Regions from separate parts of the Homo sapiens genome. Here regions 1, 3, 4, 5 and 6 are each linked to region 2. Evidence: promoter capture Hi-C in human tissues and cell types (Jung and others, 2019). All regions are on one chromosome and are shown on one strand. Each heading gives the region's core, a stretch centred on a gene start or on the middle of the fragment in contact. The rest is flanking DNA. Distances are from core to core; before and after follow the strand shown.

What was found. The method cuts DNA at HindIII sites, captures the fragments that hold promoters and counts their contacts. A contact is called where the count stands out against the background at its distance.
Region 1: a contact is called between a fragment that was not itself captured here and the fragment with the promoter of FKBP4 in region 2, in 1 of the 25 tissues and cell types used here (small bowel).
Region 3: a fragment that was not itself captured here is called in contact with the fragment with the promoter of FKBP4 in region 2 in 2 of the 25 tissues and cell types used here (IMR-90 fibroblasts and hippocampus).
Region 4: a contact is called between a fragment that was not itself captured here and the fragment with the promoter of FKBP4 in region 2, in 1 of the 25 tissues and cell types used here (dorsolateral prefrontal cortex).
Region 5: a fragment that was not itself captured here is called in contact with the fragment with the promoter of FKBP4 in region 2 in 1 of the 25 tissues and cell types used here (pancreas).
Region 6: a contact is called between a fragment that was not itself captured here and the fragment with the promoter of FKBP4 in region 2, in 1 of the 25 tissues and cell types used here (dorsolateral prefrontal cortex).

The regions. Positions count from the first base shown.
Region 1 is chr12:1,388,695-1,393,128 of GRCh38, forward strand. The region is part of intron 16 of ERC1 (ELKS/RAB6-interacting/CAST family member 1); the gene reads left to right. Among named protein-coding and RNA genes, the nearest start is that of LINC00942, 110 kb to the right of the region's middle. The HindIII fragment of the contact is 7,264 bases long and covers 1-4,434 here.
Region 2 is chr12:2,792,312-2,797,243 of GRCh38, forward strand. FKBP4 (FKBP prolyl isomerase 4) reads left to right here and starts at 2,659. Exons shown (of 10, transcript NM_002014.4): 1 at 2,659-2,933; 2 at 4,827-4,932. The coding sequence starts at 2,829. ITFG2-AS1 (ITFG2 antisense RNA 1) reads right to left here. Exons shown (of 4, transcript NR_146317.1): 2 at 4,566-4,635. RefSeq lists enhancers at 1,538-2,083, 2,084-2,628, 4,122-4,932 and silencers at 2,478-2,857, 2,888-2,947, 3,298-3,707. The HindIII fragment of the contact is 5,309 bases long and covers 1-4,932 here.
Region 3 is chr12:1,792,514-1,797,132 of GRCh38, forward strand. CACNA2D4 (calcium voltage-gated channel auxiliary subunit alpha2delta 4) reads right to left here. Exons shown (of 38, transcript NM_172364.5): 36 at 3,155-3,267; 37 at 2,786-2,868; 38 at 1-1,246. The coding sequence ends at 1,142. Among named protein-coding and RNA genes, the nearest start is that of LRTM2, 26 kb to the right of the region's middle. RefSeq lists enhancers at 3,034-3,601, 3,713-4,618, 4,619 and silencers at 3,562-3,891, 4,232-4,361, 4,462-4,619. The HindIII fragment of the contact is 9,636 bases long and covers 1-4,619 here.
Region 4 is chr12:1,657,746-1,662,562 of GRCh38, forward strand. It overlaps MIR3649 (microRNA 3649), which reads right to left and starts at 2,635; the gene lies at 2,570-2,635. RefSeq lists silencers at 4,129-4,228, 4,319-4,408. The HindIII fragment of the contact is 8,592 bases long and covers 1-4,817 here.
Region 5 is chr12:1,766,148-1,770,794 of GRCh38, forward strand. The region is part of intron 2 of ADIPOR2 (adiponectin receptor 2); the gene reads left to right. Among named protein-coding and RNA genes, the nearest start is that of LRTM2, 52 kb to the right of the region's middle. RefSeq lists an enhancer at 1-250. The HindIII fragment of the contact is 6,690 bases long and covers 1-4,647 here.
Region 6 is chr12:1,692,160-1,696,855 of GRCh38, forward strand. The region is part of intron 1 of ADIPOR2 (adiponectin receptor 2); the gene reads left to right. It also overlaps the pseudogene LOC100533654. Among named protein-coding and RNA genes, the nearest start is that of ADIPOR2, 3.4 kb to the left of the region's middle. The HindIII fragment of the contact is 3,880 bases long and covers 89-3,968 here.

The DNA of each region.
Region 1 (4,434 bases), core at 639-3,138, 1.4 Mb before region 2:
AGGGGAGCCTGGAGTAAGAAGATGGTAAGATTAAAAACAGGGAGACTGTTTAAGAATCTATTCCAGTTGCCCAAATATGAAATGATGAGGACAAGAATATAGGGTAGTTGAGATGGAGTAATGTATTCACTAGGCCATTCTGTGTATCAAACACCACCTAATCTTAGTGCCTTAACACAGTAAACGCTTATTTCTTGGTTACACAAAGTCCACCGCAGATCTTGCCGGCTCTATGAGGAAGCTGCCCTCCATGCAGCAATTCAGTAATCCAATTCTACTAAAAATTTCCTCCTTTAGCTCTTTCAGTATGAGGCCTTCTTGGTCACTGTGGCAAAGGAACAAGTAATTGGTGGTTCCCGTGCTGTTTCTTCTATGCTTGGGTCCCACGGTCACTACCCACAGACCACTGGCCAGTCAGATGTCTGGTCTGGCCAAGTAAGTGGAAGTGGTCTCCCTAATTAAAATGAGTAATCAAGAAGAAAGGCCATATATGGAAGAGAATATAACATGCTTATTTTTAGTAGAGTTGAATTCGAGGTTATTTATACCCAAATAGATACATCAAGAAAGCCGTTGGCTGGAGATGCTCCAGGTAAAGATGAGAGCTAGAAATGATAATTTTGGAGTCATCAGAACAGAAATACTACTTAAACCCATGAAAATGGAATAGCTTGCTTAAGAGAGAATATAGGCAAGTTATACTTACTTTTTACTGTTTTCTGACACATACTAAAATATTAACACAGGCCATTCTTTTCATCCTTACAGATTATAGTTCAATGAGCATATGCCCTCTGTAAGCCTGTTGGTAATGGATTTCAGAATTGGCTCTACTGGATATGCATTGCTAGGAGTTTTTATGCAGTTCTAGGGTTTTTAAGACCTTTTTTTCATGTCTTACATGTGTTGAAAATGCTTTAAGCATTTATGGCACAATATATCACAGGTGATTGTGATCTTATATACCCCATAGCCATTTTGCTGATTTGATATATAAATTAATAAAGCTCTGTTCCTGGAAATGAGGATAATGCTACATGAATACTCCAAAGAGTTAACATAAATGTAGTCTTGAAAAGCACTCCCTCAAGAAAAGAATTCTGTCCAAATCCTATTAATTCCCGGGTATTTTGCCTATTTTCCTTAAAAGCACCTTACATTAAAAAATCTGTTTTGCATTCAGTCTCTAAGCAAAAATATGTAGTGCCTTTAAAGAAACAACAACAAAAAAACCCTTGAGTAGGTTAATCTCTCCATTTTAAGTTACACACTTATTTCATGAACTAATCAAACTTGTCGTTAAGGCTTCATTAATTTCCTCTCCACTCATGGGGTGGGATGGTTGAATCATAGCGGGGCTGTGTGTGTCTGGAAGTGACCTTTGTATATTTGGGTGGTAAATTATACTTCAAAATACCAGTAGACATTTTATTAAAATTTTTATTTTCTTTGGTAGATTATTTCCTTCTAATTATAGTAGTAAACACTGGTATGTTATGATTAGTGATTAGCTTATAACAAACATCTAAACAGGGATAAGTCAGCCTGTTTAGCGATAAACCTGTCTCTTGATATATTTAGAACTGATCACTAGCCAGTATGGCTCCATATATTTCTAGGACAGTGTAACCCACAGTGACATAAATTAAAATTTTAAAAAAATCAAGGATACAGTAAATACCAACTGTCTATTAATATTGATTAATAAATCAATACATTTAAAAAATAATAAAGTTTAATTTTTCAAATTGATAAAAGTAAAAATTACTAAATTGATACATTACTGAGTTAATAAAATTAACATTTACTACTATTAATCTAAATGGGAAGGTGAAACATGGGACAAAGAATGAATTTTTCTGAACCTAAAAACTGGAAGGAAAGTCAAAAGTACTTACCAGAGCATGCTTAGGATGCCCAAAGGTACTGTCAGTTCATCTCCCGGAGGTGGGGTTAGTTTAGTCACCACCAAAATAAAACTGTGGTCAAACCATGAATTTTGGAGTATTAAATGAACCCAGTTGTGGATTCACTATGGTCAAATTACTACAAGAACTGGGACTGGAATAGGTTGCCCTGCCCTAGAAGTTTCCTAGTTGATTGAGTTGAGGTCTGATTAAGTTGAGGTCACTTCCAGACACACACAGTCGCACTCTGATTCAACCATCCCACTCCAGGAATGGAGAGGAAATTAATGAAGCCTTACTGACAAGTTTGATGAGGGAGGGAGCAGCTATGTTGGCATGTCTTCTAAGAGCTGTTTCTGACTTCTGGTGCCCAGCAGTAGTCCAGCTATGGTAGCTGATCAGTTGCTGCCTAATTACCTAATCCTATTGGCAAGATGAATGTTTCAGTTCGCTGCTGTGCCTTTAATCATAATTGTCTTTTATTCATTCAGTTTGAGGTCTTCCTGGTTCTTGGGATGTTGAGTGATTCTCAGTTGAAACCTGGACATGTTGGATGTTATGCGATATGACTCTGGGTCTTACTTAGACTTCTGTTTTAGCTGGTTTTCTTTGACACCACTCCAGCAGGGGAAGAATGGGGTGCTGCCTCAGTATTGCCCAGTGGAGGTAGAAGTCCAGTTTCTCCCACTTGGACCCTGCTGACACTCAAGGGGTGGAGGCTTCTTGTTACTCCTAGGTGGAGATGGGTATTCATGTCCCCACTAGGCTTCACTGGTGTATCCCTGCCTGGTTAGGGTAGGAAGGCCTCCACTAACACAGTGGGGGTGAAGGAAGGGGGGCCTGGTTACTGCTGTGCGGTAGTGAAGGTCCGACTCCACCAGGAGACACGGCTGTTACTGCTCCATGGAGGTGGAATTCTAGAATCCTCACCTAGTCTCTAGTGACACTGTGGAGGGGAGACTTCATTGCTGATGGTTGGAGATTATAGCCCTGCCTCCCTCGGCTTTCCCTGACACCTTCCAGTGGAGCAAGGAGAGGCTGAAGCACCTCCTCACAACCTGGTGAGCATGGGGCCCGCCGCTTGGTCTTTACTGACATGAGTGACAGTGGGACCACATGGTCTTTGGAATAGAGTGATTGTTGTCCCACAGGTTTCTATGTTGCTAGGCTGTCCCTTTCCTTTGGAGGCTTCTTTGGCTAGAGAGAGTGGGCTCCTGTTGAAGCTTTTTTGGTCTGTGCCTGTTGGCATTTCCTGGTTGTTGGCTTCTTCAGCTCTACCTCTGGATATATAAGGCAGAAAGATCCAGGGAGCTGCAGGTCACAGCACTCCTGACTGGTCTGCCTTCTCTCTGCCTTTTTAGTGTTTGTCTGTGTGTATAGTTCTTGTTGTACTTTTATACTTAGTGTGCTGGAGAAAAAAAAATATTCCTGATACTTCTTAAAGACAGTAAGGCAGACTATTCAGGGGACCACTGAGATGAGGATTTGTGTTAGAGGGCAGAGATTGGGCTCAACTCAGAATACACAAGGACCAATGGAGATGTGTAGCGAAGGAGCAGGGTGGGGGTCAGTGATGGAAAATTACTAAGAAGAAACGTCATGGCTGGGGGATTCTTGCCAGACCTACTCAACAGGAGTTGCTGAAGACAAGCCAGAGAGATGACATATTGATAGTGGGAGATGAGGAATTTGATCAGATCTCATGAGTGATCAGGCCTCAAGGGTGGGGATTTATTTTTGAAGGAAGACTTAAGCAAACTACCTTTTCTCTTTAGGAAAATAAAATGTATGTTCTGGGCTTAGATATCTAAGTAATCAGTAGGTTGAATTTTAATGCTTACATGCAGATAACCGATTTTTTTAAGTTATAATTTTCATTACTACCTCATCCCTTAGCCCAAGTCACATATTTACCTGTTTTGGAAAACCATACCTCTGGCAGCAGTTGAGCTTTGATGTCTAGTATCATTACTTTATTCAGCTTCCAATTCATTTTAAGTGGTCCTTAATGGGTATTCATTTCTTATCAGAATCAATCTATACCTGATACTTGTATATTTCTGGAAATCAAAGTTTTTCAAATATTTGGATTTATAAAATTATAAGTGGAAATATTTCAACAACTATGAAGAGATAGATAATTTAAGATACTTTTCTATAATTAACAACTTTTTTTAGAAAAGCCTGATTTTAATAAATGGTGGTTTTCTGTTTTTTTCTTCTACAGAAAAGACTGAAAGCCATTTAGCTCAGTTGTACAAAAAAGAAACTTTAGAGAATAGAGAAAATCAAGAGTGCAATAGTAGCTGTGGGAAAATTTTAACAATGTAACCACGTATGTTTGTACAGATACATATATACAGAGAAATCCTTTTATAATGAATAGTCAGAGTATAGGAGAAAAAAATGGTATTGGAGAGTTTGGCCTTATATCATTTGCTTTCAATCTGAATGGTTCAGTAAGAATCTAAAAATGCCTTTATATCCTCTGGGTTTATTTAAAGATACTTCACTGTATGTACACACA
Region 2 (4,932 bases), core at 1,409-3,908:
ATGATGGGCCCAGAGTTTGGGATCTGAGCCAGGTCAGCTCTAAGAGGCTCAGTGTGACGAAAACAAAGTTTCTGATCCCAGCAGGAGTCACCTACAGATAAGGTGGATGAGAAAAAGTGTGCTGACTTCCTCCCGCAAAAAAAGGGGACATTTTGGAAGAATTTCGAGTGGTACCGGTTACACATCTTTAATGAGAATACTAACTTAAATGGCCTGGGGAAAGGGTGAGGAGATAGAGGAAAGAGACTAAAACACGTGCACACTTTCTACAGTATATGTACTTTTTATGATCAGAAAAATATCACATAAACGACCAGGAAATATTCTAAGAGAAACAGTAAGTTCCTGCTCCAGGATTCAAGACCCCTAGTTTCCTCCTGTGGTTTCTCCTAGTTTCTGCCTGTGGTCCCCTAGTTTCCTCCTTCACTGTGTGGGGACAGAGCTTCTCACCGGGAACCTTGCCCTCTTGCCCTTCCCTGTCTCACAGACCTCTGTTTTCTTAGCCCTTTGTCCCCATCTCCACTGCAGCGCCTATCAGATCACACTAAAACGACCGTTATTTACCAGCTGCGGAGTTGGAGGCGAGGACTGAGCTAGATACCATACACAGATTCCCGCTTTTTTAACCATTAAATCACCCTCTTTTACAAATGTTACTATCTCTATTTTACAGACAAGAAATCGAGACATGAAGATTAACTAACCTGCCCCAATTTAAACAGCTAACATAACACATGGGCCGCCCAACGTCCCTTACTCCAAAGCACATGCTCATTCCACTAGGGTATTAGGCTATGTGTTAATGTAACGGCAGGCAATCTGAAGGGCTCCACTATGTACGTGCCGAACAGAATTAAAGGGGGGGTCCCACACTGTCCGCTTCCGATGAAGAAAAAGACGCAGAAAAGAAACCGCCACACGTGGAGAATCAGTAGGTGCAAGCCAAGGACAGTTTGCGGTAAACTGCCACCCCGGAAGCCAGCACCCACCATCCTGGTCTCCCGGAGTTTGGGTGACCCCTGGCACTGTTACTTCTGCATAAAAGTAGTGGATTTAACCCCTACAGAGGCAGCGCCCCGTATCCTCTGAAGCTGTCTCCAGCCACCTAAAGAGACGTCTTCATTATGGCTCAACTCATTTGGGCTGTAAATTGCTGAAGCGAAGGGCTTTTTCTTCTGCATCCCTTTCAAGTTCCGTCGGCAGGGACTACAATAAATCATCACATTATGACGCTGAAAGTTCATCTCTAAAAAGCTTTCAATTTAGTTTGATGAGACTAATGGCGTCCAATCGCACAGTGCCGGGCACATAACGGGAAGTCCAAAAATACAGTTATTATTGGAATAAAAATTCAGGCTGGGCGCAGTGGCTCACGCCTGTAATCCGAGAACTTTGGGAGGCCGAGGCGGGCGGATCATTTGAGACCAGATGTTCGAGACCAGCCTGGGCAACATGGCGAAACCCCGTCTCTACTAAAAATACAAAAATTAGTCGGCGTGGTGGCGGACGCCTGTAGTCCCGGCTACAGAGAGCCAAGATCGCACCACCGCACTGCAGCCTGGGCGACAGAGCAAGACCCTGTCTCAAAAAAAAAAAAAAAAGAAAAAAAAATCAGCCAAGACTTGGAAAAAGAAATTTAAAAAAGGAAAATTCATGCAGCCAGTAACTATTGGGACATCACTCACCAGGCACTATGCTAAACTGGGGTTAGGTGCTGAGCAAAACCAGGCCCCTCTCTAGATGGCTCTCTAGGTCCCACGACCATAGCTTAGGTGACACCGGCACCTGCGCGCTCCACAGCCTGTCGAAAAACACTCGGGAAGCAAACATTGAGAAGAAAATACTCCTTCTGTGGGCCTTTAGGAAAACCGAGTGACTTTTTTCGTGAGGGGAACCCATCTTTGTAAGCATTCGCGGAAACGGCAGTTTTATTACCGCCGGGAAGGGTCCCCTGAGTGTGTGCCCCATCTGAGTTCCGAGCTGGGCGGGCCATGCCTTGCCAACCCCGCTGCTCGCAGCATCTGCAGGCGCTGAGCGAGGCATCGCTGCCTGGCCGGGGCTTCTCGGATCTGGGGAAATCGAGGTCGCTTTCCCCGGCTCTCTGCAGCGGGGCAGCGCTGTCCACTCACTCCCCGCTCCCCGCGCACGCCCTTGCCCTCTTTCCCCCAAGTAGGGAAGGGTCTACGCGGGTCATAGCAGAGAGGCCACGCCGCCCGTGGTGACGGCCGGTCCCGGGGAGGGGGCGCCGCCACTGCCATCCCGCAGCCTGCGCTCCCCACACCCCGCCGCAGGCGCAGCGGACTGGTGGAGTGATGTCGGGAGATCGATCGAGAAGAATCTGGAAGAATCCGGTTAGACAGGGAAGCGGGCGGGGATGGGAGGGAGGGAGGAAGGGCCAAGGGAGGCCGCCGGGGAGATCCCGAGTCCGAGGGTCCCAGGAGAAGGGGGAGGGGGCAGGCAGCCAGAAGGAGGCAAGAACCAAAAAAAAAAAAAGAAAAAAAAATTCCGAAGCGCCCGCAGCACTGAGCCCGAACCGGCTCAGTCCCGCCGTCTCTAGAAAGTTCTGCACCCCGCCCCCTCTGTCTGCGCTCCCGCTCCTCCCAGCCCCTCCCTCGCGGCGGGGCGGGACCAATCGCTCCCCGAGCCGCTCCTGACCCACCTACCCCAGCTCTCGCGCCGCGTGCAGAGGTGCTCAAGCCTCCTCGCGGTCCGCAGTCAGTGCCGCCGCGCCCGGCCTCCCGCACGCCCCGCAGGTAGCGCCCCCGCCCGCGGCCCAGAGTGCGCTCGCGCCGGCACCAGCTCCCGGATAAACGGCGCGCCGCGCGGAGATGACAGCCGAGGAGATGAAGGCGACCGAGAGCGGGGCGCAGTCGGCGCCGCTGCCCATGGAGGGAGTGGACATCAGCCCCAAACAGGACGAAGGCGTGCTGAAGGTGAGGGGCGGCGGGGCCTGCGGAGGCGTCGGAACCCGGGGCCCCGCGGGCCGCCCTTCCGCCGCGCCCGGAGCCCGCGGCCGGGCACGGGTCGAGGCGGCCGCCTTTGCAGCCTCGCGGCCGTCCCGCCGGGGGCCGGTGGCATCGCCGTCCCGGACCGGGCTGCGTCGTTTAAGGCACCGAGGCCGGCCATGCGCTCGGCAGGGGGGCGGCCTAGGTGCGCGGGCCGAGGCCCCAGGCTCCCCAGCCGGCAGCGCCCGGGCCCGGGCAGGGGGTCGGGATTGCAGTGCCCACCCCGGCGCGCGCGGGGCGGCGGAGAGGGGCGGGGCGAGGCGACCGCCGCGGGCACCCGAGCCGCAGCCCGGGGCCAGGCCGGGCCTCCCACGCCACGCCGCCCCCGACCTCGCGGCCCCAGCGGAGCTGCCAGCCGCGGGCCGCCTCGTTGGTGGCGGTGCCAGGGCTCGCCCACCCGGGCGGTGGAACACGGGCCAGGACGGGGAGCGACTCCCCACAGTGCTTTCCTGGCCCTTCGGCCTTTGTGCGACGCAGGCGCGACAGGGTTCCGGCGCCCTCCCGGGGTCCCCTGCCGACGCCGGGACCCAGCGAGGTCCCCACTCGCCGCGCGGCGCCCCCTCCCTCGGCCCCGGGGAGGCCGGGCGCGGGGCATGCCGGGAGCTGTAGTCCCCTCCCCCCTCCGCCGCCTCCCGGAGCCAGGGCTGCGGGGTGTGGGGCGGGGAGGAGGCGCTCTGCTGTGGAGCCTGCCGCCGAGTGACCGCTCGACTACAAATAGCCTGGGGAGCTGCGGGGAGGGCATCTTGACCTGGGCCAGGACAACCTGCCTTGGGTCGGAGCAGGTTCCAGGGAGAATCAGAGATGGTGAATTCCCAGCCTGCGTCTTATGCCTTCTCCCCATCCGCTGCTGCGTCCTCATCCTGGCTTCCCACCGCTGAGCTCCGCGTGTGCGGCACCCACCTCAGGGGGCCTTTACCTGGTCCAGAAGTGCATCTGTCTTTGCACCAGATTATTGGGGACCTCAAGCGTCTGCTCCAGCGGCTCTCCTGTGGCATGTGACTTCCCCTTCTCGCTCCAGCGTCCTGCCGTTTTCTACGAGATTGTTATTCCAGGAAAGCTCATTTCCCCTTTGATCCATCATTCCTTCCCTTTTACCTTTCTACTCCTCAAAGCCCCTGTCTATTCTTCGTGGAAGCTTTCCCTTGGAGGGTAACCACACACCTACCAGGTGGCGCTAAAGAAGCCTTTACGTTTCTGGGAAATACTCCAGCCCTGGACTAACTACCAGAGGAATACTCAGCTCCCAAGTCAGAGTTTAAGGTCCCATGGAGAGCCTCCGGGTTCACCTATAACCTGGTTTCTTCCTTACCTGTTTTGAACTGTTTCTATTCTCTTCACTCATACTCCTCTCGCTCTCCTGTCTCCAAACCAGACCTTAGTCTGACGACCACTGGCATGAAGGAAGAAGGAGGAAGTGTGGCATAAATACTTCCCCCTTTGCCGATTATAATAATAATCTATTATTCAACCTTTTACTGGTCTAATCTTCCAACAACTGTAGGAGATAGGGATTATCATCACTGCTTTACAAATAAAGTGTGGAGAATTTTAAAAACTTACCATACAGCGGAAACTTGAACTCAGATCTCTCAGCCTTTTGTCTCCTTTTTCAAACCAAGTCTTGCTGCACCTCAAGAAAGACAAGAAGGTTAGTTGACTCATAAGCCAAGCTGCTAGTAACTGAATCTGGAGGGACAAGTAGGCAGAGGAGGATGAACACAGAGAAGTCCCTTTATGTTCCCTCTGGAGGCTTGCAGGCAGTGCTGGTGCCCCTTTCTGCCCCAAACCCTGGGGTACTCACTTTCTCCCCCTTCCTCCCAGGTCATCAAGAGAGAGGGCACAGGTACAGAGATGCCCATGATTGGGGACCGAGTCTTTGTCCACTACACTGGCTGGCTATTAGATGGCACAAAGTTTGACTCCAGTC
Region 3 (4,619 bases), core at 258-2,757, 1.0 Mb before region 2:
GGAAAGATTTGAGGCCGGCCTCTCCCACATTTCTCCATGGCTTTGCCCTTAATGTTGCTCTCACTGTGGAGACTGTTGTCTCCTGGGATCCAGGTCTTGGGGTTTGGTCGGGGGAGGAAGCTGCGGGGCCTTGGGACCCTGGGGGAGATGTGTGTGCGCTGGGGGTGAGTTCCCAGATAGAGCTTCCCTCCCAGTGGACCCTGCTTAGCAAGTTGGAATGTTCCCACAAGTTCCAACCCTAAGGATTTCACTCCAGGGACAGAGTCAAGTAGATTCTTTTGTAAATCATTGGCCAGAAAAGAGCACAACCACTGCTCTTTTTCACTATTTTACAGCTATTTTTGCCGTCCCCTGAATGTACATCAATTTCCATGCAGCAATTGGATGTCTCAGCCTATTGGCTTTTCATAGATGCAAACTTTCCTTTAGGGCTTTGTAAAGAAGTTTTGGGAAGTTCTTCAATAGCAGCAGTTTGGGGACATCACGTGTAGCCCTGTCGATATTTCCTGAATGGATTTCATTCCTTTCTCAGTCTTGACCATTCCCTTACCCAACCCCCACCCCAACACAGTCAAAACCTTTTCGAGCAGCAGCTAGGAAGGTGAGTGGCCTCCCACCATGAGCCTCACTTTGGGGAATCTATGCTTTAGTTGGGGCATATTCTTGCCTTAGCCTCATCTCTGCATTTGGCCTCATTCTGCTGCTGCTTCTCAGTACCCAGAAGTCCTTGGGTTCTACCAGAGACCACTCCGACAGAAAGGGTCAGAAACAACTGACCCTTTCTTGGCTGGGTCTGGACTCTGGAGTACAGGAAGAACTAAATTATTTTGTCTTGGTCCAAGCTGAGCTCACGCTGGCTTCCCGAAGAGGAGACAGGAAGGTTAGGTCAGAAGTATGCTCATGTTGAGACCTAGGGCAGATGGTACCGGGCACCATGAAGCATCTTGAAAGTGGTGCCAGGTGATTGGTTTCCTGTTCCATCCAGCATTCTCCGGAGCCAGGGGCCACCAGCCCAGGATTGAGAGGAGCGTTGGCCTGGGGGCGACCCAACTGCAGTTAGCTGCATCCCATGTCAGTGCTGACTTTTTGGGATGGCTCTGGAAGGATCACCTTGCCAAAACACAGGTCAGGCTGGGTGGTGTCACCGCAGGAGTTGGGGCAGTAGCCCCCAGGCACACACAGGCAGCAGGAGTAGGGGCGGCGAGGCTGAGGTGTCCGAGGCGCCGCCGCAGTCCTGGGCATTCTCCTGCGAACGCAGAGCAGAGGTGACAGCGCGGCGCTCAGAGGAGGACCCTCAAAAAGGGAGGGGCTTCCACCACTAATTTGGGCCAAAATCCTGGGGAAAGGGGAGTTTTGGAAAGCCGGGGAAGCACTGCTACCTCTCTTAGGCCCCTACCTTTTGGGGGAAAAGCAAAGGCTGGCCCCTCAGCCTGGGAGGGGGGCACCGGCCTTCTCTGCTTGCCCTCAGGCTTGGAGTGGCTGCGAGGTCATCCTCTCAGAATGTCCTCAACTCTGGGAGCATCTCTGATGGGGGTTTCTGGTCCCAGCAGACCAGACTGTATGAAGCACCCGGCTCAGGGCCTGACACCTGGGTCTGGGTTCTGGATCCGTACCAGCCACTATGACTATTATCCACGTGACGGCCCCCTCACATTGCTCGATCATTCGGAACTAAGTGTAGCGGGAATGAGGACAAGATGGGAAAACTGCATTCTAATTCACCTAGGGCCCAAGCCCTAGGAAGCGTGGCTCTTCGTTAAAGCACCTTGGGATCCTGGTTGACTTCGTATTTTAATGACACAGGGGCTCTGCTGTGCTTTCACACCAGCACTTCAACAAATGTGAAGGGTTTTTCCCACCCCACTCTCTGGACACCAACTGGGTGTCTGTCCTGAAACTCAATTCAAGTCTGACACTATTGAGAGTTAGCATTAGAGCTCGCAAGTTACAGGGCTCGGTCCCACAAGGTGGCCGTCACTTCAGATGCCAATCGCAAGCCCCAGGTCTCCTGTCCTTCTGACAGACTGGCTGTAAATCTAGGGTTCCCATGAGCCTGTCTCAGGCTCCGTGAGTTGTTAGCGTGGCTCACTCAACTCAGGAAGGTGCTTCCCTCACCATGACCCGTTTATTATAAAGGACGCAGGTCAGGCGGCTGAGTGGAAGAGACACGTAGGCCAAGGCACGGGGTACGCAGAGCTCCCACACCCTTTCACCAATTCGGACACTCTCCAAACACAGTGGCTCGGGGATTTTATGGAGGCCTCATTATGATCATTGATTAAATCTTTGGCCACTGGTGATCAACTCAGTCTCCAGCCCCCTTCCTTTCCCAGAAGCCAGGGGCTTGGAGCCAAAAGTCCCAACCCTCTAATCCTAACTTGGTGTTTCCTGTGGCCAGCTCTCATCCTGTCTAGGGCCCCCAGCCACCAGTCATCTAATTAGCATACAAAGATACCTCTATCATTCCAAGGGTCTTAGAGGCACCTGTGAAGGAACCAGGGACTAAGACCAAACACTATAACAAAAGATGCACCTATCACCCTAATCAGGAAATAACAAGCGTTTTAGGAGCTTGCCAGGAATCAGGACAAAGACTAAATAAAGATCTGTTTCTTATTATATCACAGTGTCACAGGGCATAAACGCGAATGTTTCCCCCGAGAAGCACAGGCACAGGTGTGTTCATTGGCATCCCTATATGCTCCTGTCTGCAGGGGCACAGACCCAGGCACAGAGGGTTTGGGGATGAAAATCCAGCCCACCCTCGATCCGCCTCAACCCGCACCTCTGGATGGAAGGCGTGGCAGGAGTCTGGTCGCCGGCGGAGCTTCTGGGAGCGCATCCGGTCACATTTGACAGAGGCATTATGTGCAGAAGCCACTGTTAAGGTCAATATCTCAGGACCGGAGCCCATTCTGCAGACTGGAAAAAGGTCTGGAAGAACCTGCTCTGGTGCCACCAGTTGCCCTGCAAGCAGCTTTAGGGTCAGGAGGCAGCACCGGGGCCCAGGGAAGGGTTAGAGAACAAATAACGGAGCCCTGTGGAGGACACGGGCGGTGAAGGAGGCTGGCCCCGCTGCTCAAAATCTGAGCCCTACAGACACCTCCTACAGCCCCCGCCCCCACCGCACACATCCCCGAGCATTGCAGGATATATTTGACTTCTGTCGCCTCCTGCAGCACTGGTGGGAAGATGCTGCAGTCACAGGTGGGGTCTGTCACCAGGAGGAGGAGGTTACTGTTGGGAATCTGCTGCACCACAAATACCCTGCAGCAAAGAAAGGGAGTCGAGGATGGCTCCGTGGCGACCACGAGAAGGGCTTCTAGGGAAGGAACTTCTGGAGACTTTAGTGTGGAGTTAGGGTGGCAGGGAAGCCCGGAACCATGAGGCAGGGCGGGTCGGGGCAGCTAAGGGAACGGGCCTGGCAGATGGCTCAGTCCTACTGGCTTTGCTCACAAGCCTTTGCTGCTGCATTTCCTTTCCTAGCAGACTGGAGACAGTGAGGAAGTCCAAACTGGGCCGCTTTGGAGAGTGCAGAGTTGCTATTAATATATGCAGGGACGACAGGCGTAAATCAAGACCGTCCGGAGCAAATGGGCGGGCGAGGCAACACTTGCTCTGGGTGAGGGTGGCGGGGGCAGGCCCGGGCGAAGCGGCAGCGCTGGAGCTTGGCCACCAGGTGGCGCAGTGGCCCCGCGCTCGGCGAGGCCGCCCTGCGAGGAGTGGCGCGGAGTGGGGCGGAGCCCGCCCGCCAGGCCCACGGCCTTCCCAGCAGTCCCAGCGGCCGCCTACCGAGCGCCTCCCCTGGGATGGGCGGTCTCACACACCCAACGTGCACACCACAGCCGTGTATACTCTCAGCCTTCACGGCTCTGTATGAGGCTGGTGTTGTGCCCATTTTGCAGATGAGAGAATGGAGACTAGAGGAGGCGAAGTCACTTGCCCACGGTCATAAGCGGGGGAGCGCAGAGCCAGTTTTCAATTCAGGAGTGTCTACTCTGAAGCCCTCGCTTCACTCCGGAGCCCGCTGGCTCTATCCTCGCACCGAGCCTTTGCGACAAGTGCACAGGGAACGCTAACCCCAGCCCTCAACGCTGCACAGAACCCGGGGTGAAACCCGCGCAGCACGACGCGCAGGGAGTGGGGGAGAAGGGAGCCCCGATGCCAGCGCCGCAGGTGCCGCACTGTTAAATGGTGTGCCACGGGCCCGGGGGTCTAGGGACCGCCTGGCGAGCGGCACGTCTGGCTGAGGCGACCCTCGAGGAGGCCGCCGCATTCCCAGCGTGGGGGTCCTCCCGGGCTTGGGTGCGGGGGGTCAGCAGGAGAGACCCTTCCGCGCGGCCTCCCTGCCTCCCCGGGGCCAGGGCGGGTTATAACTAGCGGCTTCCACACAGCAGGAAGCCTGACAGAGGCTGCCCGCGGGGCTCCCAGCGACCCGAGGACATCGCACACTTCCGGCCTTCTCTTCTCACACTCCCTCTGCCTTCCAAGTTCTCCCCACGCAGCTCAGGCGCGGGCACTGGCACCGCCCTGGGCACCGCCTGAGCAGGGCTGGGGGAGACCCGCCGAAGGGCCCACTCGCCCAGAGACGCCGTGGGGTCACGGCTGCGGCCTCGGCG
Region 4 (4,817 bases), core at 1,272-3,771, 1.1 Mb before region 2:
AGTCCTGGGATTACAGGCATAAACCACCATGCCAGGTGCCAGGTCAGAGATGTGGTTTTTTCAATCCCAGGGTCAAGAAACCAGAATTGCAGCCCTGGCTCTGCTGTCAAATTGTTCAAAAGCCTCTGAGGAAGAAGGATCAGGCTTCCAGGCTTTATTTGCTCCTCAGTTCCCGGTGCCAGCTCAGGGTTTTTGCAAAGTTTAGCTGCCATAGGAAGTGAGAAATTGCTCTGGAAAATGTATATGTTCCCATTTTTGCCTTTGTTATTATTTCAGTTCTGCTGTGGACTGTTGTGAACTGACCCAGTAACCACAGGCTAGTTCTTTGTCTTCCAAGCCCCTTATTGCTTGTTTCCAACAAAGTAGTCAAAAACACTTTCTCTGCTAAACAAACTTTTTTTCTTTTTTGTAACAAAAAAGACCAAAGATAGAAATACAGCATGGCTTTCTTTTTTCCTTTTTTTTTTTCTTTTTTTTTTGAGATACAGTCTTGCTCGTTGCCCAGGCTGGAGTGCAGTTGTGAGATCTCGGCTCACTGCAACCTCCACCTCCTGGGCTCAAGCGATTCTCCTGCCTCGGCCTCCCTAGTAGCTGGGACTACAGGCGCATGCCACCACGCCTGGCTAATTTTTGTATTTTTAGTAGAGATGGGGTTTTGCCACGTTGGCCAGGCTGGTCTCAAACTCCTGACCTTAGGTGATCCGCCCGCCTTGGCCTCCCAAATTGTTGGGACTATAGGCATGAGCCACCGCGCCCAGCCTTACAGCATGGATTTCTAAACAGAGTGGCTATTTGTTGCTGGGACAGGTAACTGAGAGGATAGATTTCATTCCCCAGAGAAGTTTAAGAAAAGAAGAGCATTTAGATGTTTTTAGAATTTAGTAGAGTCTAGAGCCAGGGAGAAAACCAGACATTCTCTGGAGATTCATTTCAGCTAGAGGGTTCTGTGTGTCCCATCTCCCTTTCAGGGATTAATCAGCCTCTAAAAACAGCAAGGGCACAAGATTCAGTACAGAGGACCTGGCTTCCCAACCAACTAGTTAAGTGATTCAGGCAGTTTCCTCAGCAATAAAACAGAAATAATACTCTCTCTACCTCAAATTAAATCATATGGATGTGAAAGCCTTTTGTAAAATATAAACTTTTAAAATATTGAGGCTGGGCATGGTGGCTCATGCCTGTAATCCCAGCACTTTGGGAGGCTGAGGTAGCAGGATTACTTGGGCCCAGAAGTTTGAGGTTGCAGTGAGCTAGGATCGAGCCACTGTACTCCAGACTGGGTGACAGAGCAAGACCCTGTATTAAAAAAGAAAAGGGTAATGGTATATCTTACATAGATATAGATAAGTGTATAAGATATAGCTTGCTTATATCATGGCAAGATCAATGAAAATATGCTTTTTAAAAAAGTAAAGTTTATTATGTAAGCTCTTGGGAATCATCTCAACTGAAGCCAACCACAAATGCAAGGGGTCTAACCTTGATGATCTGGATTTGTTTGGTCTTTTGTATACCCAGAAATCCACCATCCTTCTCTATGTTGGTCTTGGTCTTTCCTGAGAAGGCCAGTACCTGAAAAGTGAGCATTCCACCTTCCACCCCGCCATCACATGGGAGTCTTTTTTTTTTTTTTTTAAATCCCCAGTCTGTTTACCACTTTGTCCTAAGAATCAAAGACTTAGGAAACTTTTTTTTTTTTTTTTTTTTGAGACAGGGTCTCACTCTGTCACCCAGGCTGGAGTGCAGTGGCGTGATCTCAGCTCACGGCAACCTCTGCCTCCCAGGCTCAAGCGATTTTCCTGCCTCAGCTTCCTGAGTAGCTGGAATTACAGGCACGCGCCACCACACCCGGCTAATTTTTGTATTTTTTTTTAGTAGAGACGAGGTTTCACCATGCTGGCCAGGCTGGTCCTTATCTCCTGACCTCAAGTGATCCACCAGCCTCGGCCTCCCAAAGTGCTGGGATTACAGGCGTGAGCCACTGCTCCCGGCCAAGGAAACTTCAAGAAGGCAAAGGCAAGGAGGCCCACCCCTGGGCCCTCAGAGGACATGGACAGGGAGCGGACTCTGAAAGGAGCTCTGGGAATGGACTCTGCCCCCTCTAGCCCCCAGGGCCTGGCCGCCTACACCCAGCTGCTTCTCCTCACTGGCCTCTGCCCCAGGACATGGCAGCCACATCAGGGACGTGGAGCTGGGAAGCGTCCCCCCTTCTCACAGAAGGTCTGTGACAGTGGAGAAGATTCCCAGGATCTCAGGCTAGAAGTTGGAAGGCATTTTCTGAGGGCCACATGATTCCACCAGCTGGAGTTTTCTGTTCCCATTGTACAGTCCTTGATTTCTGGGACACAAGATGTTCTTTTAGGCTTTCCTGAATAACAAAGATCACACATACACTTGTTTATCTGGGGAGATGCCTTCCCGTTCTAAACAACTGACTTACAAATTCTCTTTCTGAGAACAATGCCCATTCATAAGTTGGGAACATTCTGTATGAGTGACTTCTGGCTGGGAAGGCACAGTTCTCAGGAGGGGGAGGAGTTCTCAGGAGACCCCTGTAAAGTGGGCCTGTGCTTAGACACTCAGGTCCCTGTGTTTGCTAGAAACACTTGGGCACACACAGGTGCCTGTTCCAAGCCTTCCTCCCAAGGAACACACCTGCGCATGTGAGTCACATGTCCCGCCAACGTGCCACCTAACCTTCACCCTGAGCTGGGGAGTATTGAGTAACTGTGTCGTCAGCAAAGTCACCCCACTGCTTGGGTAACACCTTCAGATAGTATCCAGGCCAAAACATGTTAAGAAAAAAAATTCACTCACAGCCAGAACACTTATTCCTGTTTATCTTTTAACAATGCAAGGGTAGGGAAATTGTTTGGAAATCAAAACGTGGAAGTTCGTTCATCCTCCCAACTCGTGGAGTTCTAAGGCAGAGACTGGCTAAGCTTTTGTGGGACCTAAAAGTTATATAATCAGGGTGGGGCAGTTTAAATAATTACAAATACGGAATTATGAACAGGGCCTTAGAAGGCGAGGGAGAGGCCCTGAAACTTGAGCTTCATTCACTTAATGGAAAATCTAACTCTGATTCTAGGGGAAGAATCTAGAAGATTCCATGAAAATACAATGTTATAGAGCTTTAAATGACTTTCCCTAAAATACTTTTAATACTTCTTGCCTTAGTGGATCCTGGCTTTTCTTTGACAGTGTCATTCAGTTGAAAACCCTCTGGGTAAAGGCTCTTCGCCTCCTGGCAGCCCCATGCGGGCGGGAGGTGCTGCTCTCAGGGTCTTCACACCCCACTGTTGCAGCCCTCCGCCCACCCGTCTCTCCAGCCGGACCATCCTCTCTGCATTTTGGTCCCTGTCCTCCGCCCACCCGTCTCTCCAGCCGGACCATCCTCTCTGCATTTTGGTCCCTGTCCTCCGCCCACCCGTCTCTCCAGCCGGACCATCCTCTCTGCATTTTGGTCCCTGTCCTCCGCCCACCCGTCTCTCCAGCCGGACCATCCTCTCTGCATTTTGGTCCCTGTCCTCCGCCCACCCGTCTCTCCAGCCGGACCATCCTCTCTGCATTTTGGTCCCTGTCCTCCGCCCACCCGTCTCTCCAGCCGGACCATCCTCTCTGCATTTTGGTCCCTGTCCTCCGCCCACCCGTCTCTCCAGCCGGACCATCCTCTCTGCATTTTGGTCCCTGTCCTCCGCCCACCCGTCTCTCCAGCCGGACCATCCTCTCTGCATTTTGGTCCCTGTCCTCCGCCCACCCTGGGGCCCTTCTGCAAAGCACTGAGGTTCGGGGCGCATGGACGTCTTCCTCCCAGCCCCTCATCCGCCAGCGAGCTGAGCCGCGCCCGGGCCCCTGTCACCGCGCCACCGCTCCTTCGGGACCTGAAGCCTCCGTGCTCAGCGATCCCCCTGCAGCCCACTGCGACCCCCACCCTTGCTGCGCCCTCCGCCTCAGCACGGCCCTCCCGGAGCTATGTGCCCTCCCTGACTTCCTCTTCGCCCCTCCCCTGCCTGGCTCTCCCACTGCCAGTCACCCCAACCCCGCCCCAGCAGCAGCCTCGAGTTCCCTCTCCCCTCGAAGGCCTCGCGGCGGACTCGGAGCGGGGCAGGGAGGAGGCGGGAGGCGGCGGGGGGCGGGGGGCGGGGGGAGGCGGGAGGCGGCGGGAGGCGGGGGGCGGGGCCGCAGCTCCGCCCTCGGGAAATGGCTCCGCCTCCCTCGCCGGGAGCTGCCTTCAGGGGCCGTATGCAGCGACTCCCCACCCCGCGGGCCATGCCAGCGGACGGGCACCTCCGCGGGCGCAGAGCGAGTCACACGTGCATCCTCTCGCCCTTCCCCCGCTGCACCGCCCGCTGTCCAGCCCTCTCCTGTTTTCTCCCACTGCAGAGCTGGCTAAAGAACACTGCAGACTTGGGCCAATTTGCCCCTGCCCAGATTCCTGATTCCCGGCCTCGCGGCCCCACCGCTGTCTTCCTCTCCCCTCCCGGACTTCCTGTCGCCCCCAGCCCCAGCCCTCTGTGGCCGCGGCCTGCTCTGCCTGAGCTGCGCCTCCGGAGGTTCCGCCGCCCCTTCGCCTCCCCCTCCCCACTTCCCGCCTCCCCCCTCACTTCCCGCCTCCCCCTCCCCACTTCCCGCCTCCCCCCTCACTTCCCGCCTCCCCCTCCCCACTTCCCGCCTCCCCCTCCCCACTTCCCGCCTCCCCCTCCTCACTTCCCGCCTCCCCCTCCTCACTTCCCGCCTCCCCCTCCCCACTTCCCGCCTCCCCCTCCCCACTTCCCGCCTCCCCCTCCCCACTTCCCGCCTCCCCCCTCACTTCC
Region 5 (4,647 bases), core at 556-3,055, 1.0 Mb before region 2:
TTACTATGGTAGTAACTCCAGTTGCAAATGGATTTAGCTAAGAAAGGACTAAAGGACATTTTAGACAAAGGGAACAGCAGATGTGAAGATTCAGAAGCAGATGTAATACGATGCCTGTAGGGAATAGTAATAATAATAGCTAATGTTTATTGAGTACACACTGGCACATACTGATGTCTGAACCTGAAAAATTTCTAGCATAGCTGGAATGAAAGGTCAAGGTGTATAGTGGGGTGGAGGATGTGGTAGTAAGTAAGACAAGACACCTGGGGCCTGAAATCTAGGTCTTTAGCCTCCTGGTCCAGTATTATGCCATCATTCAAATTTCTTTTTGCAATTTATATCAGTTTCAAATTTTGTGTAATGTTGTGTACTGGTTGAAATGATTAGACCATTGCCCCTAGGCCTCTGACCCTAAAGCCTGGACTCTTTTAACTATATTTGCTAAAGTATATAGTTAGGAGGCATTCTGTAAGCTTTTGGACAAAAATATAAGAGAGGCATTTCAAACCAGGTTGTCCTGATCTTTATTTTTATGGCTCCCCTCTGCCTCCCTGCTCCCTTTCTGAGCTTTCAAGATATTAGGTTGAATAAAGAGATCAGCCTTTATGGTTGTCCTACTTTTCTTCTGCTCCAGATTCTTCTTTATAAATTGGGAGATAAGGAACTTTTATTCATTCAACCTTCATATTCTGTTAAACTGGTTTACTTTAACCAAAATCAAGAATGCCACTATATAATAGTTTATTGTAAGAAAACTAACTTGTAAATAGACTCTTGTCAATCACTTCATTTTATTTTCATGGAGAAGCCTGCTTAAGAAATTCAATTAAGATTAGAGGCCGGGTGTGGTGGCTCACGCCCGTAATCCCAGCACTTCGGGAAGCTGAGGCGGGTGGATCACCTGAGGTCAGGAGTTCGAGACCAGCCTGGCCAACATGGTGAAACCCCGTCTCTACTAAAAATATAAATAATTAGCCGGGCGTGGTGGCAGGCGCCTATAATCCCAGCTACTCGGGAGGCTGAGGCAGGAGAATCGCTTGAACCCAGGAGGCAGAGGTTGCAGTGAGCCAAGATTGCGCCATCACACTCCAGCCTGGAGGACAAGAGCAAGACTTCGTCAAAAAAAAAAAAAAAAAAAAAAAAAGATAGAATTGCTATTTGAGAATTTTTAAAAAACTGAGTGATTTTAAAGATCTTTTCCATTAAGCTTTGATGGAAGTCAGAGTATATATATTTCTAGGCAGGCCAAAATGAATATTCATATAGACTAGATATTATAGTTATTCTTTTGGAGAATACTGGGTATACATCCATCAATACTTATTCTTCAGCTATCATTTTTTTTTGTAGATACCTTTGTTTCCACAAACCTCTTTGTTTTCATTTGTTAGTAATATCAGCTTGCTAATGCCCTTGCTACACATTTCCAATTTCTAAAGTTAAGGCTGGCTTCAACCTGTCAACTTGTAAAAAGACCATAAAAATCACCTGTTGATCAAACTAAGCCAGGTTTATTACATACTCCAGTAAGGGTGAACACTGCCCTAAAGAGTCCTAGAAGTATTTCAGAAAGAAAGTATTGGATATGGATATTTACAGGGTTTTGGGGTCTGGTTTCAAGTAGTTTAAGGAGATTTTACTTGGCCCTGTTCTGAGTTTGTGATAGAATTCTTAGACCAAGTCTTGATAAACAAATATTTGTTTGGTAAGTGAGCATGTTTGCCCAGTTGAGCAATGATTAAGGATCTAATTGAGCAGTCTGTTGTTCAGTTAAATGAATTTTTGAGAAATTCCTAAAGCTAATGATGAAGTTATTTACTGGTTTGCATTCTTACCTTCCTGGGCAAGAATTTCCGAGAACAAATAATAAAGTTCTGTTGATATAGGGGCCTTAGATCTTAGTCCTTATAATTAAGCTGTGTGAATGCAGAAGGTCTCAGTTCTCAATGACATTTATAAAGGCAGACAGATTTTAATCAAAGGTTTACTGTCTCCAGCCCTGGATATTGTACCATTTCTTGACCTTTTTCATCTAATTGTGGATGGTAGATAGTATCATGATTGTGAGTCTTTGTGGCACTTCTTGTACTTCCACTAACATTTAAATACCTCATTTATGTTTTGCTACTTTCCTAAATGCCCCCGAAGCTCTAGATGAACTAGTCTCTTTTTCTCAACATGGCACTTTTGCTTTTCCCTCTTGGTTATTTTCCTTTATCTCATCTTTGCAAAATTTTTATTCTTCATGCAGGCTTTCCTGAGCCTCATCATGTTTATCTTTGAACTAGCTATACCTTTTTTTCTATGAAGTCATTTATTTGGCTAATTTAGCACTTTATTAGATTGTAAGTCCATGGAAGACAGAGACTATGTTTTATTCATCTTATTTTTAATCATCTAATAAATATTTGTTAAACTGAATTACTCTGTTGAATTGAGTTAGGCCAAAACCAATAAATACCCAATAGGTTTGTGAATTATTTTCATATTAGACTGATCTTAAAGACCTTTTATCTTTATCACTATGGTTCTCTGTCTTTCCAAAGGTAAAGTGTACTCTGGAAAATTCTCATTTTAGATTGCAGTTTGGACAGATCATCAAAGTCAAATGTTACTATGTTTTGAAATACAGTCAGCAAAGTTCTCACAGATGGACTTTACTGAAAACAGATGGCGGGAGGGGGGAGATATTTCAAAATGTCTTTGTGCTCATTTCAAAGCATTGACCTCTACAAGTTTAAATATAGTTATTCATAGAAAAACCTGGAGAATTAAGTTTTATGCCTTTATTCTTGGCAGCTTTGGTTTTGTTTAATCTGTCACAATGTCATGTTTCTTGTCATAATTTTGTTGAGGGTGTGGTAAGGAGTATGACAACAGAAGCAGAACATAGCATGTATGTGATCATTGAATATAGATACAATTTATTGTTCAGAGAGGTATCTTTGGGTACTGTGGTTTGGTGGCTGTTGGATGGAAATTAGAAATAGTAATTTCACTCATAATAAAATAGTTATTTGGACTTAATATTGGAAGACAGAGACTATTTTAAATATAGCGTCTAGCATAGTCTTTCCAAGCCATCAGTATGTGACATATGGTATACCCTAGGGAAAGTATTTTTTTATCCTGTTTTAGCCAGTGTTTAACTCTGCCACTGTATTCCTACTTTATCCTCTCTCTAACCCAGGGAACTGCATTTACCACCACCCACACCACGTGGATACCGCATTAGCAACTCCGTTAATACTTGAACACAATAAATAGTTAATTATGGTCTAGTATTTTAATTTATCCTTTGAGAACATATTTGTGAATATTCCTTTATACAAGGGTAGGAATTGGTCATAGTACTTGATAAATCAACAGATTTATTAATACTTTGCCCTTCTGAAGGAAATATTTTTGTTTTTGTTTGTTTCTCTTGTTGCCCAGGCTGGAGTGCAATGGCACGATCTCGGCTCACTGCAACCCCCACCTCCTGGGTTCAAGCGATTCTCCTGTCTCAAGCCTGCTGAGTATCTGGGATTACAGGCGCTCGCCACCTCACCTGGCTGATTCTTGTATTTGTAGTAGAGACAGGGTTTCACCACGTTGGCCAGGCTGGTCTCGACCTCCTGACCTCAGGTGGTGCACCCACGTTGGCCTCCCAAAGTGCTGGGATTACAGATGTGCGACACTGTGCCTGGCCGGAAATAATTCTTTTATAAAGATTCTGAATCTTGCTGATATATTGGGATGGATGGAAATATTTATCTTTACTAAAGTAATTTTTTTTTTTTTTTGAGACAGGGTGTAGCTCTGTTGCCCAGGCTGGAATGCAATGGCAAGATCACAGCTCATTGCAACCTCGACCTCCTGGGGCTCAAGGAGTCCTCCCCCTCAGCCTCTTGAGTAGCTGGGACTGCAGACAGGCACGCAACACCACTCCTGGCTAATTTTTATATTTTTTGTAGAGATGGGGTTTTACCATGTTGCCCAGGCTGGTCTCGAGCTCCTGGGCTCAAGCCATCCTCCTGTCTTGGCCGCTATCAGTAGTCTTATATGTAACCAGTTGCACTTAGCCTGATAATCAGAATTACTGATTGTGAGTAATCTCACTGATTACTTACTGAGTCACATTGATTCGGAGTGCAGTTTCATCATGTTTACTTAATGGTAGTATACATTAGCCATATTGTGTTTTATGTACATATCTGTAGTTTTGAAATGGCTGACAGTAATTTGTATGAGAATAAAGACTCTTTGTTTCTGTTTCTTTGGAGAATCAAATACATGTTGAATATGTGCAAATATCTGAGCTATTTTATATAACATAATTTTATATTTTAAAATCGGTCTGCTATAATCATTTCAAGCTATTGCCCGTTTTCAGGTTTTATATAATTTTAATGGAATTTTGTCATTTTAATTTCGTGTTTAATTAGGCACAGCCCTCATTAACTTATTGTTGAAAGTCTCCTAGAGCATTTATTAATTTAGCCATCATGTAAGTATGTTCCAGAAGCCATGGGGAAGAAGACAGACACTTAAAAATCTAGTTTAGGAAATGATACGCTAAAAATGTAAAATTCTATTAAACGTTAAATAAAACAGTATTAGTCAGTAAAAGAGCTGTAATCAGATATTACTGTCAAATGAGAG
Region 6 (4,696 bases), core at 779-3,278, 1.1 Mb before region 2:
TAGCATTATTTGATCACAGAACTTTTCCAAATGAAATGCTAAAAATTCCTTCAGAAAAAAGCATCCATCTACCCATAGCATTATTTTTTGGGGGGAGGCTATACGTCTTGTCAGTTCTGAAAGTTTGAAGTGACCTCTTATCAAAGGCCACCCTTATGTCTCCTTAAACGACTCTTAGGTAATTCCTAGATGTTTTCATCCGTTCTGATAAATTTGTTGTCAGAGTGTTGATTGTGATGATCTGCAACTAAAATTATTTCATCAGTAAAGATTTCCACACATGTGGCAGCTGCTTGTTGGTGAATTATGAAATTTGAAAAAATTGCAAATTAAATGTGAAAGGCATATTTCTTTTAACTTCTGATTGTAACTGTCTGTCCTCCAGTATACGTTCCTATCTAGACTTTGGTCTGCTTAGCAGATTTCCTCTTTTCACTTGACACTAGGAATGGGAGTAGGATTTCCAGAGCCTAAAAGAGAGTTTGTTTTTTTTTTCTATCCCTAGGCTCCTTGTATGAATTTATAAATAAATGGTTTTTTCTATCAATAGTATCAATTTAGCTGGTGCACTTTTTTTTTTTAGTATAAATCACATTTTGTTTCCTAAAATGAAAATAATTTTGTTTTATTCTTTATTTCAGGGATTGACAGATTTTAAAGCCTGCAGGCCCAGTCCTGCCAGTTGCCTCTTTTTGTAAATAAAGATTTGATTAGGCCTGGTGCGATCGCTCACGCTGGTAATCCCAGCACTTTGGGAGGTCGAGGCGGGCAGATAACCTGAGATCAGGAGTTTGAGACCAGCTTGGCCAACATGGTGAAACCCCGTCCCTATTAAAACTACAAAAATTAGCCGGGTGTGGTGGCGCACTCTTGTTATCCCAGCTGCCCGGGAGGCTGAGGCAGGAGAATCGTTTAAACCCGGGAGGTAGAGGTTGCAGTGAGCCAAGATTGCACCATTGCACTCCAGTCTGGACAACAAGAGCGAAACTCCGTCTTAAAAAAAAGAGGAAGAAAAAAGTTTTTATTAGAACATAGCCATATGCAGTCGTTTAGGTATTGTCTGTAGTTTCTTTTGGGGTACAGCAGCAGAGTTGAGTAGTTGTGCCAGAGAGCCATGTGGCCTGTAACACCTTATATTTATTTACTATGTGGACCTTAATATAAAAAGTTTGCCGAGCTCCATTAAAAATGATACATAGTCAATGTTGAAAATTTAAATGAGTCAGAAAATTGTAAAGGAGAAAGTAAAAGTTATTTACAAGTACACCACTTGGGGCTTTTTTTCTGTGATTATAGAATTTGTTGGTGATTATTTTTTATATAAATGAACTCAAATTGATAAATGTTGGTTTGTAATCTGCTTTTTTTTTTTTTTGTTCATTTTGTTTTTTGAGACGGAGTTTCGTTCTTGTTGCCCAGGCTGGAGTGCAATGGCACGATCTTGGCTCACTGCAACCTCTGCCTCCTGGGTTCAAGCAATTCTCCTGCCTCAGCCTCCCTAGTAGCTGGGATTACAGGTGTGCGCCACCAAGCCCGGCCAATTTTTTTTTTGTATTTTTAGTAGAGACGGGGTTTCACCATGTTGGCCAGGCTGGTCTCGAACTCCTCATGTGATCCACCTGCCTCACCCCTCAAAGTGCTGGGATTACAGGTGTGAGCAACCGTGCCCAGCCCTGTAATCTGCTTTTTTAAGAAGTATTTCATTATTTGTATTTGGATTTTGATTGCTTTTGTATTTTCTGCATTGGAGGTCTTTCTAGAAAGGGGCTTATGAACCGGGTTTTCATGATTAGTCTTACCAGTCAAGATTTAAAAAGAAAATCCAGGAATAATAAATGCTTGGTAATGAAGATGCTGGTTAACATTTATTGAGCACTTACTATGTACTAGACAATTTCCACTACTTTACGTGTATGAAATTATTTAATTGCTGTGGCAGCTCTGTGAGTGTATACTATGATTTCTGTTTTACAGGTGAGGAAACTAAGGCAAGGAGAAAAATTAAGTAACTGTTGGAAGTTTATCAGCTAGCAAATGGTGGAGCTAGGATTTGATTTCATGCAGTCTGATTTGAGAAACCCAAATTCTTAACAATATGCTACAGAGCCTCTACTTACATTATTGCTCAGTGTAGAAAGTTTAGACAGTCCAGAGATATACTGTCATCCCTTGGTGTCTGTAGGGACTGCTTCTAGGACCTTTGGTGAATATCAAGATGCACAGATGCTCAAATCTCTGATATAAATGGCATAGTATTTGCATATAACCTGTGCATATCCTCCCAAATACTTTATATCATTTCTAGATTACTTATAATACCTAATAGAATATAAATGCTATGTAAATAGTTGTTATACTGTATTGTTTGGGGAATAAAGACAAGAAAAAAAAGTCTGCATGTTTCAAATACAGATGCTATATTAAACTTTTTGGATCCAAGCTTGGTTGAATCCACAGACATAAGAGCCCATGGATATGGAGGGCCAACTGTATAATGTAAAAAAATTCCTTCTCATGCGCTAGTTTCCAGTTTTCATCCTTTGTAGATAACCAGGGGCAACAGTTTGATATAGGTCTTTTCACCTCTCTTTGTGTGCATATACAAGTAATTATTTGCAGATTTGTCTGCATATTCAGAATTTAAAAATTACACTTTTTTTTAGCAGCTTTAGATGTACAGAAATTTGAGCCGATAGCACAGAAAGTTCCCATATTCCCTTCCCTTCCCTCGTTTCTCCTATTGCAAACATCTTGCATTAATTTGGCACATTTATTGCATTTGATGAGCCCATATCAATATGTTGTTATTTATTGGTCTATAGTTTACATAGGGCTTATTCTTTGTGTTGCAGTTTTTTTTTTTTTTTTGTTTTGTTTTTTTAAGATCTCACTCTGTATCTCAGGCTGGAGTGCACTGGTGCCGTCATGGCTCTGCAGCCTCGACCTCCCGGGCTCAAGCGATCCTCCCACCTTAGCCTCCCAAAGTGTTAGGGTTACAGACATGAGCCACTGCACTTGGCCGAGAGTTATTTTTTACAAAAATGGGATCAAGCCCAGTGGTGGCTTGCGCCTGTAGTTCCAGCTACTTGGGAGGTTGAGGTGGGAGGATTGCTTGAGGCTAGGAGTTTGAGACCAGTCTGGGCAACACAGCATGACTCTGACCAGTCTGGGCAACACAGCATGACTCTGTCTCTTAAAAAAAAAAAAAAGTGGGCTGAGGGTGGTGGCTAACGTCGGTAATCCTTGCACTTTGGGAGGCCAAGGCAGGTGGATCACCTGAGGTCAGGAGTTCGGGACCAGCCTGGCCAACATGAATGAAACCCCCTCTCTACCAAAAATATATTAAAAAAAAAATTATCTGGGTATGGTGGCGCGCGCCTGTAATCCCAACTACTCAGGAGGCTGAGGCAGGAGAATCGCTTGAAACTGGGAGGTGGAGGTTGCAGTGAACCGAGATTGCACCACTGCGCTCTAGCCTGGGCAACAGGAGCAAAACTCCATCTCAAAAAAAAAAAAAAAAAATGACGAAACCCGTCATTCAGCAGTCATTCACCTTTTTTGGTGGTTTTCAGGATATAGTGCTTTTGGACTTTCTAATGTAAACATTCTTGATTTACTAATTTTCAGATTAATGACAATTTATTTTGGGAATGGAAGGCTGGCTTGGATGTTACTTTTTCTCTCTTTTTATTTTTCTATTTTTTTTTTTAAGTGTATCTCATAGTGGCAGCAGCTTTTCCCCAAAGGAATGCTTATTTTTTTTGACGGGACATTCTGGCTATACCTAATCATCAAAGTTCTTCTTTTTTCTCTTTATCTCTGGATTTGGAAAATGATTCATTTTGGTTTTCTTCCTCATAAATTCTTTTTGGTCTGTCCAGCCATTGCAGTTGCTAGTCATGTCTCCTTGTCAGACTTTGGCTTTTTATGACTGTCATCAATGTTAGAAAAAATTACTTGCTCCTTATCACTATTTCAATACATTTCCTCTTGGGCTTTCCCTGGGGGCAGCACTGAATTTTTTCCTTAGTTGAGCCATGCAGATTTTCTAGAAGTCATCGTTTAGTTTGGCTTTTCACTCCTCCATGGGTGCTGTTCAGCTTCTAGGAGATTTCTTGCAGTTTCTACTTGTCAACAGATTCACCAGCAGCACCCTCCTCCTCACTGAGACTGGTGCTTCCCCACCCATCTTTATCATTTTCAGCCTTCTCTTTTTCTTTCTCTTTTCTTTTTTCCTTCTTTTTTTTTTTTTTGGTTACAGCGTCTTACTCTGTTGCCCAGACTGGAGTGCAGTGGTGCAATCGTAGCTTACTGCAACCTCCGCTTCATGGGCTCAAGTGATCCTCCCACTTCAGCTTCCCAAGTAGCCGGGATTACAGGCATGCACCACCATGCCTGGCTAATGTTTGTATTTTTTGTAGAAACAGGGTTTTGCCATGTTGTCCAGGCTGGTCTTGAACTCCTGGCCTCGAGCGATCCTCCTCCCTCAGCCTCTTGAATAGCTGGATTTAACAGGCAGGAGCCATTGTCCCTGGCCATATTCTTGCACTGTTGATTTTACTGGGGCCTCTGTCAGCTTACCCTGGAATTCTGCATCATCTGAGGATTTGGAAGAACTGAATCACAGTTATAGTAGACAGCATCATATTCTTATCCTTGTGTGTTTTATACTGGGACAGGTCTTGAGGAAGTTCTT